Regions from separate parts of the Homo sapiens genome. Here region 2 is linked to region 1. The links are contacts of gene promoters, found by promoter capture Hi-C in blood cells and fetal thymus (Javierre and others, 2016). All regions are on one chromosome and are shown on one strand. The core of a region is centred on a gene start or on the middle of the fragment in contact, and the rest is flanking DNA. Distances in the headings are between cores, read along the strand shown.

What was found. The method cuts DNA at HindIII sites, captures the fragments that hold promoters and counts their contacts. A CHiCAGO score of 5 or more calls a contact.
Region 2: a fragment that was not itself captured here is called in contact with the fragment with the promoter of GLS2 in region 1 in 5 of 17 cell types (naive CD4 T cells, total B cells, activated CD4 T cells and 2 more); the score reaches 6.0 in naive CD4 T cells.

The regions. Positions count from the first base shown.
Region 1 is chr12:56,486,911-56,493,218 of GRCh38, reverse strand. GLS2 (glutaminase 2) reads left to right here and starts at 5,058. Exons shown (of 18, transcript NM_013267.4): 1 at 5,058-5,282. The coding sequence starts at 5,101. It overlaps LOC124902944 (a long non-coding RNA gene), which reads right to left. Exons shown (of 2, transcript XR_007063331.1): 1 at 6,267-6,308; 2 at 5,887-6,232. RefSeq lists a silencer at 4,712-5,141 and an enhancer at 5,302-5,521. The HindIII fragment of the contact is 16,217 bases long and covers 2,546-6,308 here.
Region 2 is chr12:56,202,494-56,209,436 of GRCh38, reverse strand. RNF41 (ring finger protein 41) reads left to right here. Exons shown (of 7, transcript NM_005785.4): 5 at 1,139-1,274; 6 at 1,688-1,791; 7 at 2,639-6,943. The coding sequence ends at 2,990. Among named protein-coding and RNA genes, the nearest start is that of TRS-CGA4-1, 16 kb to the right of the region's middle. RefSeq lists a silencer at 1,258-1,307. The HindIII fragment of the contact is 2,772 bases long and covers 1,576-4,347 here.

The DNA of each region.
Region 1 (6,308 bases), core at 3,809-6,308:
CAATAAATACTTAAAAAAAAAAAAAAAAAGAAAATTCATACAGTTAAAAAAAAAAAAAAACTTTCCTGAAAATCAGAAAACTAGAATGACAGTTTTTTTGCAAACTGACAGGTCAAAGTAGGTGATGTAAAAAATTTCAAATTATATACAATCTTAATAAAATATGGCTTATGGAGCATTTCACTTAGGTAAATGTGGTTAAAAGTTAATTTAACCTAGTCTTTTAGAGAAGGGTCTCATTTGTTCACTACAGAGTAATACAAGATTCTGACATCTTTCATAGTCTTTAAGTCAAAGAAAAACAAGTATTAAAATACTATTTCTCTAGCAATAACTTGGAGAAGGGAAAAAAGAAAAAAGAAAATGCTATCAAGCAAACCCCGAAGGTATTTTCTTCTTGCTGTGTTGGCAAAGGCTTTCAAATTCCTTCAAATTAGCTTTCGCCTACAGACTTTTCTAAATCCTTTTTAGGAATTCTAGCAAAATCTACATTATTTTAGTATATTTTGTTGATTAAGACTTGCTAGAATCTACTTTAATAGCTATTGGAGAACCCAGATTATACAAGATATTATTTGGAAAAATAGAGAAAATGCATGTTAGGCATCGTAAATGGACCAGTGTGATGATATGTTTTTTAATAGGCTTATATTTATATTTTTTCAGTCCTATAAATGTTCATTTTGTTATTGCTAAACCAAAGAAGAATTAGGAAAGCACACTGGAGTAGATCACAGACACGCTTAAACTTTTATTAAATTTCATTTACTCCATGAAAGTCTAGCATCAAGTTAAAACATGCATCCCATACCTACATCCTCAGTTTCATTGGTCCCCATTCTTTTTTTTTTTTTTTTTTTTTTTTTTGAGATGGAGTCTCGCTGTCACCCAGGCTGGAGTGCAGTGGCGCGATCTTGGCTCACTGCAACCTCTGCCTCCCAGGTTCAACTGATTCTCCTGCCTCAGCCTCCTGAGTAGCTGAGATTACAGGTGCATGCCACCACGCCTGGCTAATTTTTGTATTTTCAGTAGAGATGGGGTTTCACCGTGTTGGTCAGGCTGGTCTCGAACTCCTGACCTTGTGATCTGCCCACCTCAGTCTCCCAAAGTGCTGGGATTACAGGCATAAGCCACCACGCCCGGCTGGTCCACATTCTTATACCCACGTTTCATTCCAACCAAACTAGAGGTAGAGTCCCTCAAATGTTCCTCTCAGGCTATGTTTATTCTTGTAGAGCCCTCTGTCTGAAACACCTCTCGTGCTTTAAAAACCAGCTCCTGTCAGTCACCATTCCTCTTCTATCCCAGTGGCCCTTCACCCCCAGCTTAGTTAGATGTCCCCTTTATACTTTCTTCTGCATGTCTCTACATCACAGCATTTTTCATTAGGAATTTTAAACATAAGCTTTCTCATTTCTCCCAGTAGAAACTGGTTTATTAAATTTTTAAATTTCTGGATTTTCCAGCACTGGACCTGGCACACTGAATGCCAACAAATAAATATTAATTGAGTGAATGGAAGCTCATTATGTCAGAGCCCCAAGTACTTACATTTTACCCAGTAAAATACAAGTTTATCTTTTACAAATGGAGAAACTAAGGCAGAAAGGAGTTTGTAACAATAGTATCATTAACAAAGATTAATAAAAAAATGAACTAATCTTTTACTTGGACCAATTAACATCCTAGCTACAGTCTAAAGAGTAGAACAGGCCAGGTGCGGTGGCTCACACCTGCAATCCTAGCACTTTGAGAGGCTGAGGCGGGCAAATCAAGGGGTCAGGAGTTCGAGACCAGCCTGGCCAACATAGTGAAACTCCGTCACTACTAAAAATACGAAAATTAGCCGAGCATATTGGCGGGTGCCTGTAATCCCAGCTATTCGGAAGGCTGAGGCAGGAGAATTGCTTGAACCCGGGAGGCGGATGTTGCAGTGAGCCAAGATCACACCATTGCACTCCAGCATGGACGACAGAGCGAGACTCCATCACACACACACACACACACACACACACACACACACACAAAATAGAGTAGAACAAATGAGTCTCTAAATCATAAGAAATAAACAAACTCCAAACATCAATTTCCTATCACAGAGGATTAGCTTTTCCTTCTTTCTTTCTTTTCTTTTTTTTTTTTTGTTTGAGACGGAGTTTTGCTCTTGTTGCCCGGGCTGGAGTGCAATGGCGTGATCTCAGCTCACCGCAACCTCCGCCTCCCAGATTCAAGCAATTCTCCTGCCTCAGCCTCCTGAGCAGCTGGGATTACAGGCATGAGCCACCGCGCCCGGCCCGGATTTAGCTTTTATTAAGGATTCAAAATCATTAAGTCTAATCCTCTCTCACATACCACAAAACTCTGGCACAGCCATGGACTAACCTAAAAGCCCACTGTTAGAGACACAAAGAACTTTCTTTCAGTTATGAAAATCTTCATTTCTAGCTGCCCTTGTCATAGTTGGCTAATAGTTTTGCACAAATTAAACTAGATGATGAGTATTTTTCAAATTAGAAACAAAAAGAGGACCTGACCCTGCCAAGCTTTAACCACCTGGGACAACAAACTTGTTCTTCTCCAGCATCTTATACTTTACACAGTACCATTGGCCTCCCAAGTCACCAGTTCATGCTCCATCCTCATGCAAAGACAGCAATATTGTATTGGAGACAGTTAGTCCAAAGGTCCAAGTGCAGCTGGAGCTAGTTCTCTAAGCAAAGAACCTCTGCTTCCATGCATAGATCTTCTTCACTACCCAACCAGTTCCTATTAGTGGAAGAGTGCTGGGAGAAAGAGAGTAAGGAACTCATTAGAGTATAAAGCTAATTCAAAGAGGCAGAAATAGGAAAAAAAGGAAGCAAATTACTTCTGGGTAATGTTTAGAAATTCCCTAACAGATGGTATTTTTCTCTTGAATAGATCAAAACGTTTCAGATAAATCATATTTCTATGAAACAAGGATAAGATTCGTCTGTTACGTATGAAAAAAACTAATGCAGGATTGAGTTTACGTTAAGTATTGAGACCCAGAACTCTGCCTCTTGGGCAAAGCCAAGCATAAAGCAGCAAGCCCTCCCAGAATTAGACGGCTTTCCACGGACAGGAGAACAGATACAGCAGACACAGAATGACTACAGAAGGCGAAAACAAGCAAAAACAAATGTCACTCCATCTGGTTTTAAGCCAAATAAGCCCTCCAACCCTAACCAAGGCAAAGGAGAACTGCCTTTCCACAGAACACACCTGACTGGTTTCAGTACTTGTTTTCCCACGAGTACCCTTGAAACTCATTTTAATCCAAAAATGAAAACTATGGGACAAGCACGGTGGCTCATGCCTGTAATCCCAGCACTTGTGGGAGGCTGAGGCGGGCGGATCATCTGAGGTCAGGAGTTTGAGACCAGCCTGACCGATATGGCGAAACCACATCTTTACTAAATACAAAAAATTAGCTGGGCGAGGTAGCAGGCGCCTGTAATCCCAGCTACTAGGGAGGCTGAGGCAGGAGAATCGCATGAACCCAGGAGGCGGAGGTTGCAGTGAGTCGAGATTGCGCCATTGCACTCCAGCTAGGGCAACAAGAGCAAAACTTCGTCTCAAAAACAAACAAACAAAAACTAGTATTTTGTGATACAGCCAGAACTATCACAAGGAAAAGACTCCCAGTACTGTATCATAATACTTCCACATAAAATACCTCCTTTAGGGATGGGGTCATTTCTCCCGGGATAATTCAATTCAATGCTTAATTTTTGAGAAGGGCTGCATGAAGGAGAGACTTGTAGTTAAAAAAAAAAAACGGGTCTAATTTCTGGTTCTGGTACTTACTAGCTGGGTTACCTTATGCGAGAATTCTTAATTTCCTAGTCTTAGTTTCCTCACCTTCAAATTGAGACTAATAACTACTTTGTAGGTCTCTGGTAAGAGGGAGAGAGAAACTAAGCGGTTGGAACACCATGGGCACTCAATAATAGCTATCATTTACATAATGAGTCCCTACTAAATATGGATGCTGGGTTAGGCGCTGCCGAGATACAAGGTGAAAGTTCTAGCTGCAAATGGCAAAAGTCCTGAATGTTCTTGGATTTCAAAATGCTTTTTGTATATCGCCTCTTTTCTGCCCGTGAGGAGGACAAGGGCAAACAATTAAAATAGGAAAAATGTGGGGAGCACTTCATGGTTTATAAAACGTTTTTCTGCGTGCCAACTTATTTTAATGTCTTAACTTTCCAGATTTGAAAACAAGTCCTACACCAAATAAATGGTAGAGGGACACAAACTGGAACCCAGGCTTCCTAACCGCCAGAGCGACCTTCCCGCCGCCCAATGCCTCCCTGAGGTGCTGGTCGGCTGCTTCTGCCCGGGGTACCCAGCAGTCATCCTACTCTCCACTCAGCACCACCGCACGTCGGCCGCGCGCCACGCTACCCGCCGGGTTACTGGGCGCTGGTTTGGCCTTCGGAGGTCGAGGCTCTCTGAGTGACCTCCTGAACTGGGCTCACTCTTACTTAGCCTCCTCTCTCGAGGCAGCACCCTCCTCTCTACACGACAACTCCATCATTCGCAGCCCCACGGTGTTCCCGGGGAGCGCCTCCCGCCCCCACCGGCTTCGCCTCAGCTTGTCCTCGCCTTTCCCGCCCTCAGCATCCGCGGATACCCGCGCTCGCCGGGCCCACGCGGAAGCATCCGCAGACTGTCGCAAGGTCCCACCGTCTTGCTCTCATTGGGCAACCTTACCCTTTCCCCGCCTCAATGTTTTTGCTTCCTCAGTGATTGGACCTGGGCATTGTCCATTCCAGCTCCCAGGCACCGCCCTCTCTCCACCCACTAGAAAGCCACCCGGGTTCTCCTTCATCCCCAACGCTCCTCACCTAGCCCCTGTCCTGAGGGTGCCCCTAACCCTGGAGCCAGCTTTAAAGGGGCAGGCCCCTTCTCCTGCCCCAGCCCCAGCCCCACCCACCGGGCCCACATTCTCCGTCTTCCAGGTCCAGCGCTCCCTCACAGAACTCCCCCGCACCTTGTCTCGCTCGCTCCGCCCCTCCTTCCCAGCCACAGCTAGAGGTCCCGGGCGCACCTGCAGAGCCGGAGGCTTGCTGGGGCATGCGCTCCATGAAGGCTCTGCAGAAGGCCCTGAGCCGGGCTGGCAGTCACTGCGGGCGAGGAGGCTGGGGTCACCCGAGCCGGAGCCCCCTCCTTGGCGGGGGCGTCCGGCACCACCTCAGTGAGGCCGCGGCGCAGGGCAGAGAGACGCCACACAGCCACCAGCCGCAGCACCAGGATCAGTAAGGCTCCTGGGACAGGGCAGGGGACGGGCTTGCCCCCACTCCCACTGTGGTTCTCGCTAGTTCCCGAGTGCCCTTCCAAGGCAGCGCCGCTCATCTCCCCTCTCCTCGCTCACTAGCCCTCGGTGCCTTTTCCTTTGGATGTGGGGCTTTGGGTGCGCCGCGCTCGGGCGGTAATCTGCCGTCTGCCTAGGAGTGCGTTCGGGCAAGCGGGTCCTGGGGATGGCGCCTGTCCAAGGTGCGCACTTAACCCGGATCACAGATGCGCGCCGAGTGTTGCTTGGCTCACGTGTCTGAGTGCAGGGCCGGGCTCACGCCGCCAGTCCTCACCTTCCCTAGTCCTCGTGTGTATTTTAGGAGATGCGTGGATGTGGAACAGCCTCCTGCCTCCGGTCCAGGTGTACTGGGGTCTGTGTGTTGTGTTTCTGCGTGTTCTCGGCAGGTAATGTGTGATGCGCGTGTATTATTGGTGCGCAGGTACGTCCATAAGTGTTGGGTGTGTGCGTAGCAGTGCTCCCTGAACAGCAGAATGGGGGGGAATTTCCAAACTGGTTGTTGAATGGGGAGAATATTTGTAATGGAGGAAAGGTCTTTAAGACGCAGATTTCCCAAACCAGAGCCAGTCAGAGCCTTTATTTGTGCTGCCCAGGCTCCAGAATCTAAAACGTTCTCTTCCTTTGGGTGTTTCTTCCACCCAGGATGCCAAACCTTTATCTTCCCCACCGCCTAGGACACACTTGGTGGCTGAGCCTTTTTCTCTGAGACCCAGACGGTGCTGAGCAGGAAATCTTGTCCTCCCCAGAGGGCCAGCATAGACACTGTCCAAAGAGCCCCTGCTCTACTGTAGCAGGAACAGGAAATGGGCCATCTCCCTCGTCGCTGCCATCTCCCTGATGACACTCAGAAACATGGACACCATCAGTAAAGTAGCCAGACTGACACAACACTACCTCACCACTACTCGAGTCTCTGACACAACACTACCTCACCACTACTCGAGTCTCTGTCGTAAGGGACACCAATAGG
Region 2 (6,943 bases), core at 1,712-4,211, 280 kb after region 1:
CGCCTGTAATCCCAGCTACTCAGGAGGCTGAGGCATGAGAATCACTTAAAACCAGAGGTAGAGGTTGTAGTGAGCTGAGATCGCGCCATTGCACTCCAGCCTGGGTGACAGAATGAGACTCTGTTCCCCCTAACTAAAAAATAAAAAGAATGTTGATAGCTGGGGCTGTGAATATAGGGCTTCTCTGAAGGAATAAGTGCACAGGCAGAATCTGTAGGAGGAAAAGGAGAGCTGTGCAGTAGATAAAAACAGTGTGTCAAAATAAATAAATAGGCCCCGTGCGGTGGCTCACGCCTGTAATCCCAGCACTTTGGGAGGACGAGGCGGGCGGATCACCTGAGGTCAGGAGTTCAAGACCAGCGTGGCCAACATGGTGAAACCCCATCTCTACTAAAAATATAAAAATTAGCCAGGTGTGGTGGTGGGCACCTGTAATCCCAGCTACTCGGGAGGCTGAGGCACAAGAATTACTTGAACCCATGAGGCGGAGGTTGCAGTGAGCTGAGACCGTGCCATTGCACTCCAGCCTGGGTGACAAGAGTGAAACTTGGTCTCGAAAAAAAAAAAAAAAGGCCAGGCGCGGTGGCTCACGCCTGTAATCCCAACACTTTGGAAGGCCGAGGGGGGCAGATCACGTGAGGCCAGGAGTTTGAGACCAGCCTGGCTAACATGGAGAAACCCCATTTCTACTAAAAATACAAAAAGTTAGCCGGCCATGGTGGCGCGCACCTGTAATCCCAGCTACTCGGGAGGCTGAGGCAGGAGAATCGCTTGAACCTGGGAGGCAGAGGTTGCGCTGAGCTGAGATCATGCCATCGCACTCCAGTTTGGGCAACAAGAGCGAAACTCCGTGTCAAAAAAAATAATAAAAATACAAAATAAAATAAATTTAAAAAATAGATAAAACACTGTGTCTTGATTGGGGAAAGAAATTTAAGGAAAATAGACAGCAAAGGGGCAAGTAGGAAGCTTGGACGAAGAAAGTGAAGGGAATAAACAAGAGGGAGGCCTGAAATGAATGTTAGAAATTTTGGGTAGGACAAAATCTACTTAGCAGTTATCTGCCACAGAATAGGCCATTTGCATACATGTCCCAGGGATCACCTCTGTTCTGCTCTTTCCCCACCCTGGTCTGCAGCCTGGAGATGCCCAAAGATGAGCTGCCCAACCATAACTGCATTAAGCACCTGCGCTCAGTGGTACAGCAGCAGCAGACACGCATCGCAGAGCTGGAGAAGACGTCAGCTGAACACAAACACCAGCTGGCGGAGCAGGTAGGCCCCAAGACACGGGGGAGAACATATCCCTCATATGCAGATAACTGCCTGCCTGTGGGTAATAAAAACCAGTTGTGAACACACAGACCAGTGCTTACACTTGTGAGCCTAGATGAGTGGATATTCTGCCTGTGGCTTAGCAGGGAATCAGATTGGAGCTCTCCTTGACTTTTCTTCATCCCATTCATAGCATTAATTCACCTACCAGTTATCACATGCCTCCTCTGTGAAGGCACATTTGTAAGTACTAAGGAGACAGCTGTGAGTGAGACAGTCTTATCCCTGTCTTCCTGAAGCTTACAAACTGGTTGTTCTTCAGATCTCTCAGTTGCCCTCATTCTTGGATAAACTTTTGTCTTTTTTCTGCTGTCTGCCTTAACCATTATTCCTGTTCTTCTTCCCCACAACAGAAGCGAGACATCCAGCTGCTAAAGGCATACATGCGTGCAATCCGCAGTGTCAACCCCAACCTTCAGAACCTGGAGGAGACAATTGAATACAACGAGATCCTAGAGTGAGTGTCACTCAGGACGTGGAGTGATTTCATGTCCTGACAACAAGGCCTGAAAGGAGGAAGAGCAGGAGAGTAGCAGAAGGAGGGCATTGGAGAGCTGGGCTGGGGGTCACTGCTTCTCAGATATTGGCATTAAGGACAGGGGCAGAGGAGAAGAGGATAACCCTTAGCTCCACTACAGGATGTCTTATGTGTTTGGGTGGATGGAGGGAAAGCCTGCCCAAGGATGCACTTTATCCAGAATTAGGTGAGTACCCATGTACAAAGCCCTGTATTAAAGGCTGTGGAGTGCTAGGAGGGCCAAAAAGAAATAGAAGATATCGTCCTGTCTTCAGGTAGCTTACAACCCAGAGAAGAGGAGGCAGAGTGCAAGTCCAGGAAAGTGATCTCTAAAATGCAGCAAAAACAAGCGAAGTATACAAGTGAAGTCTAAGATCTCTTTCAGTTCTGGAGTCCTATACAGTTCATAGAGTAAACTGTAAGTGTGAATCAATATATACAGGGCAAATAGTGCTGAGTGGGACATAGGATAGAGGAATAATTGTTTTATTCACTAAACATAGAGCACTAACTGTGTTAGGCGCTATATGTGCTAAGTATTGGAATTTCAAAGAAAAGTAACAGAGACAGAGTGCAGACTTGTGGAATTTAATCTGGTGAGTAACATGTGGTGACTCAGTTGGGACCAAGTGGGGAAAGATTTGGGGTTTCTGAGCCAATGATGGAAGGAAAGAAGGAAGAATAGGTAAGCTGAGTGCAGAGTGGGTAGTTATTTCTATTAGCAGAAAAAGCCAATACAGAGAAAGGAGATGAGCTGGAATGACCATCTTTAACCACCTCCACACAGGTGGGTGAACTCCCTTCAGCCAGCAAGAGTGACCCGCTGGGGAGGGATGATCTCGACTCCTGATGCTGTGCTCCAGGCTGTAATCAAGCGCTCCCTGGTGGAGAGTGGCTGTCCTGCTTCTATTGTCAACGAGCTGATTGAAAATGCCCACGAGCGTAGCTGGCCCCAGGGTCTGGCCACACTAGAGACTAGACAGATGAACCGACGCTACTATGAGAACTACGTGGCCAAGCGCATCCCTGGCAAGCAGGCTGTTGTCGTGATGGCCTGTGAGAACCAGCACATGGGGGATGACATGGTGCAAGAGCCAGGCCTTGTCATGATATTTGCGCATGGCGTGGAAGAGATATAAGAGAACTCGACTGGCTATCAGGAAGAGATGGAAATCAGAAAATCCCATCACTCCAGCAGCTGGGACCTGAGTCCTACCCACCATTCTTAATACTGTGGCTTATACCTGAGCCACACATCTCCCTGCCCTTCTGGCACTGAAGGGCCTTGGGGTAGTTTGCTCAGCCTTTCAGGTGGGAAACCCAGATTTCCTCCCTTTGCCATATTCCCCTAAAATGTCTATAAATTATCAGTCTGGGTGGGAAAGCCCCCACCTCCATCCATTTTCCTGCTTAGGGTCCCTGGTTCCAGTTATTTTCAGAAAGCACAAAGAGATTCAATTTCCCTGGAGGATCAGGACAGAGGAAGGAATCTCTAATCGTCCCTCTCCTCCAAAACCAGGGAATCAGAGCAGTCAGGCCTGTTGACTCTAAGCAGCAGACATCCTGAAGAAATGGTAAGGGTGGAGCCAAATCTCTAGAAATAAGTAGTGAGGCCGTTAATTGGCCATCACTGATGGCCCTTAGGGAAAGACTGGACCTCTGTGCCAAGCAGTATCCCTGTTCAGCCCACCTTAAAGGTGTAGGCACCCACTGGGTCTACCAGTATGCAGGTTGGGATACTGAAAATTTCCAGATGAGCTCTTCTTTCCTACAAGTTTTCATAATTAGGGAATGCCAGGGTTTAGGGTAGGGGTTAATCTGTTGGGGGTTGATGTGTTTAGCAAGAAGCTACTCCTAGCTTTTGCTAAAATATGGTTGGCACTGCCTCTTGTGGCACAGGCCATAATTGTTCCATAGACCCCTCTCTAGCCCTGTGACTGTAGTTAGTTACTTTGATAATTTTCTTTGGCCATTGTTTGTTTATATTTCACAAACTCCACCTACTGCCCCCCCCCCTCTTTTTTTTAAGAATGGCCTGATCATGGCTATCTCAGCCACATTGTTGGCAATTTAATTTATTTACTTCCTTTTTTTTTTTTTAAGAAAGGAAAAAAGAAAAAAAAATCAAACTTGAAACTTTTCTTTTGATGTTCCTATTGTGGGGGTTCTGGATAGGGTGGGACAGGGATGGGGGTGTGTTTTATATTTTTTCCTTTTCAGCACAACCTTTGGCTTTAATATAGGAAGAGCCAAGGGAGTCCTCGGCTGAACTTACGATATCTGCCCCAAACCTCTGTAACCCCAACTGAAATGAGGAGCTTCCTCTCTTCCTGTGAAGGATATGACAGTCCAGCATCGATGCCTGTGCCCTCTGGAAAAATTTCCTCCTAGCCCTTCCAGGGCCTTATCATAAAACTCTGGATTTAGAGTATTCATTTTGAAGGCAACTCCCCCTTCCCCAAGTTTCCTTGGAGCTGTATAGCTGGGTTCTAAGCTTCACCATGCAAATCAGAAATTTTATCTCTAAGTACAGGCTGTGCCGTGTCTCACCCACACCCCCCTGGGGACTTCAGTTCCATTTCAGGTTACCTGGGGTATACCTTGATCCCTAGAGTGACTGGCAGAGTAAGAGAAGGGGAGAGATAATAGGTGTGATTATTTTAATATGGAGGTGGGAGTGTGGTTGGAGATAGAAAGGCTCCTCCCCACCATGTAATGGCTTCCTCTCAGAATTTTATTCCAGGCTAGCTTGCTGCAGGTCTGGGTAGTTGGATCATGGCTCCACTGGGATTGGGGTGGAAAGCTTGAGGGGAGTAGGGTTCCAGCTCTGGGACATTGTGCTCAGGAATTTGAAAACGCTGCTATACTTACTCTGGTTACTACATTTCTTCCACTCCCCTTTCCCCTACCTGCCTTAACCAAGGCTCATACTGTCCTGTCCTTACCCTCAGATGGAGCCAGGAAGCTCAGTGAAAGGCTTCCCTACCCTTTGCACTAGTGTCTCTGCAGGTTGCTGGTTGTGTTGTATGTGCTGTTCCATGGTGTTGACTGCACTAATAATAAACCTTTTACTCAACTCTCTAAATTCTTCAGCATTACTCCCTTTCTTGAGAAGGTTTCCCCTCTGCTTTTGCCTTTCTCTCACCTTAATTCCCTTTCTTCCTTACTTTGTTACCTACCCTTATCTTAGTGCTAACTTCTCTTTCAGGAGGATGTCTGGGAGTAGTGTGCACTTCACAGCTGCTTTCCCATGTACCCTCCTGCATTCTTCCCTCCTATCTCCTGTTCTGTAGCAGCCAAAGCTCTCTAGTGATCTGAACTGTGTGCTTCCCAGGGTCTGCCTTTATCCTAAATTCCATGTCTTCCCTGAGTGGTCCTGAGTTTTTGGGATAATTTCTACAGAAGATATGTATATATCTTTTTCCTTTGTCCCACAAGCAACTTTGCTTTAGAATCTAGAATTCCTTTGCAGGCAGAGAAGTCTCTACCTCCCAGTGTTTCCTAGCTAAGAACGTAAATGTGAGGAGGGAAATGTACTTGCAGAGGTTTCATAATTATTTACTTATAAAAATAGTCTTCATAGCCGGGCGCGGTGGCTCACGCCTGTAATCCCAGCACTTTGGGAGGCCGAGGTGGGTGGATCACAAGGTCAGGAGTTCGAGACCATCCTGGCTAACACAGTGAAACCCCGTCTCTACTAAAAATACAAAAAATTAGCCGGGCGTGGTGGCAGGCACCTGTAGTCCCAGCTACTTAGGAGGCTGAGGCAGGAGAATGGCGTGAACCCGGGAGGCAGAGCTTGCAGTGAGCAGAGATTGGGCCACTGCATTCCAGCCTGGGCGACAGAGCAAGGCTCCGTCTAAAAAAAAAAAAAAAAAAAAAAGTCTTCATAGGCCGGGCACGGTGGCTCACGTCTGTAATCCCAGCACTTTGGGAGGCCAAGGTGGGTGGATCACAACGTCAGGAGATCGAGACCATCCTGGCTAACATGGTGAAACCCTGTCTCTACTAAAAATATAAATAAATTAGCCGGACAGGCGCCTGTCCTCCCAGCTACTCAGGAGGCTGAGGCAGGAGAATGGTGTGAACCTGGGAGGCGGAGCTTGCAGTGAGCTGAGATCACGCCACTGCACTCCAGCCTGGGCAACAGAGCAAGACTCCGTCTCAAAAAAAAAAAAAAAAAAACCAGTCTTCATAAGTATTTGCTGCTACCTTTCCCTGTCATAAGAAAAAGGATAGCCAGACATGGTGGGACGCCACTATGATCCCAGCTCCTTGGAAGGCTAAGGCACAAGAATCGCTTGAACCTGGGAGGTGGAGGTTGCAGTGAGCTGAGATCATGCCACTGCACTCCAGCCTGGTGACAGAGCAAGAGCCTGTCTCAAAAAAAAAAAAGAAAAGAAAAGAAAAAGGGATATCTTTTCCTCCTCCCAGAAGTTTGTTTTAAATTTGAGCATTTATCATGCACCTGATGTAAACCTAATAGTACTCTTGATACTCTAGTGGCTTGAAAAAAAAAAAAAAGGCATTTCTGTGCTGAGTCTGCGCTTCTATGCACACAAGGTATGTTTATAAAATACTGATAAGCATGTCACAGTATAGAGCATAAGAGGCAATGTATGTATCCTAGTGACATTAGCAGTGCTTTTCCCCCCTTAAACTCCTTTAAAATTACTTTTAGAACTTGCTGCTCATTCTTGTGAATGTTATGAATGGTGTCATATTGTCCTTTTACAGAAGATACGATTTTTAGAAACAAATATTCATTGAATGTCTGCCCTGTGAGATACTCACTAGAGTGAACATGAGGAGGCTTATGTAGCAAAATGGCACCTACCTGCAAAGAACTTAGTCCCTAATGGAGATGAATATATAATAAGGGATCATAAATGTGCTAAGTGGATTTACTAGTAATATGTGAGCCAAGGACGATAAAGCTCCTGATTCTGATGGGTATCAGGAAAGGCTTTTCAGGAAGTGTTACTTGTTATAGGTCAGAGGTCAGCAAACTACAGGTTACAACCCCACTGCCTGCTTTTGTAAAAAACTTTATTGGAATACAGTTATGCCCACTTGTTTATATATTGTCTGT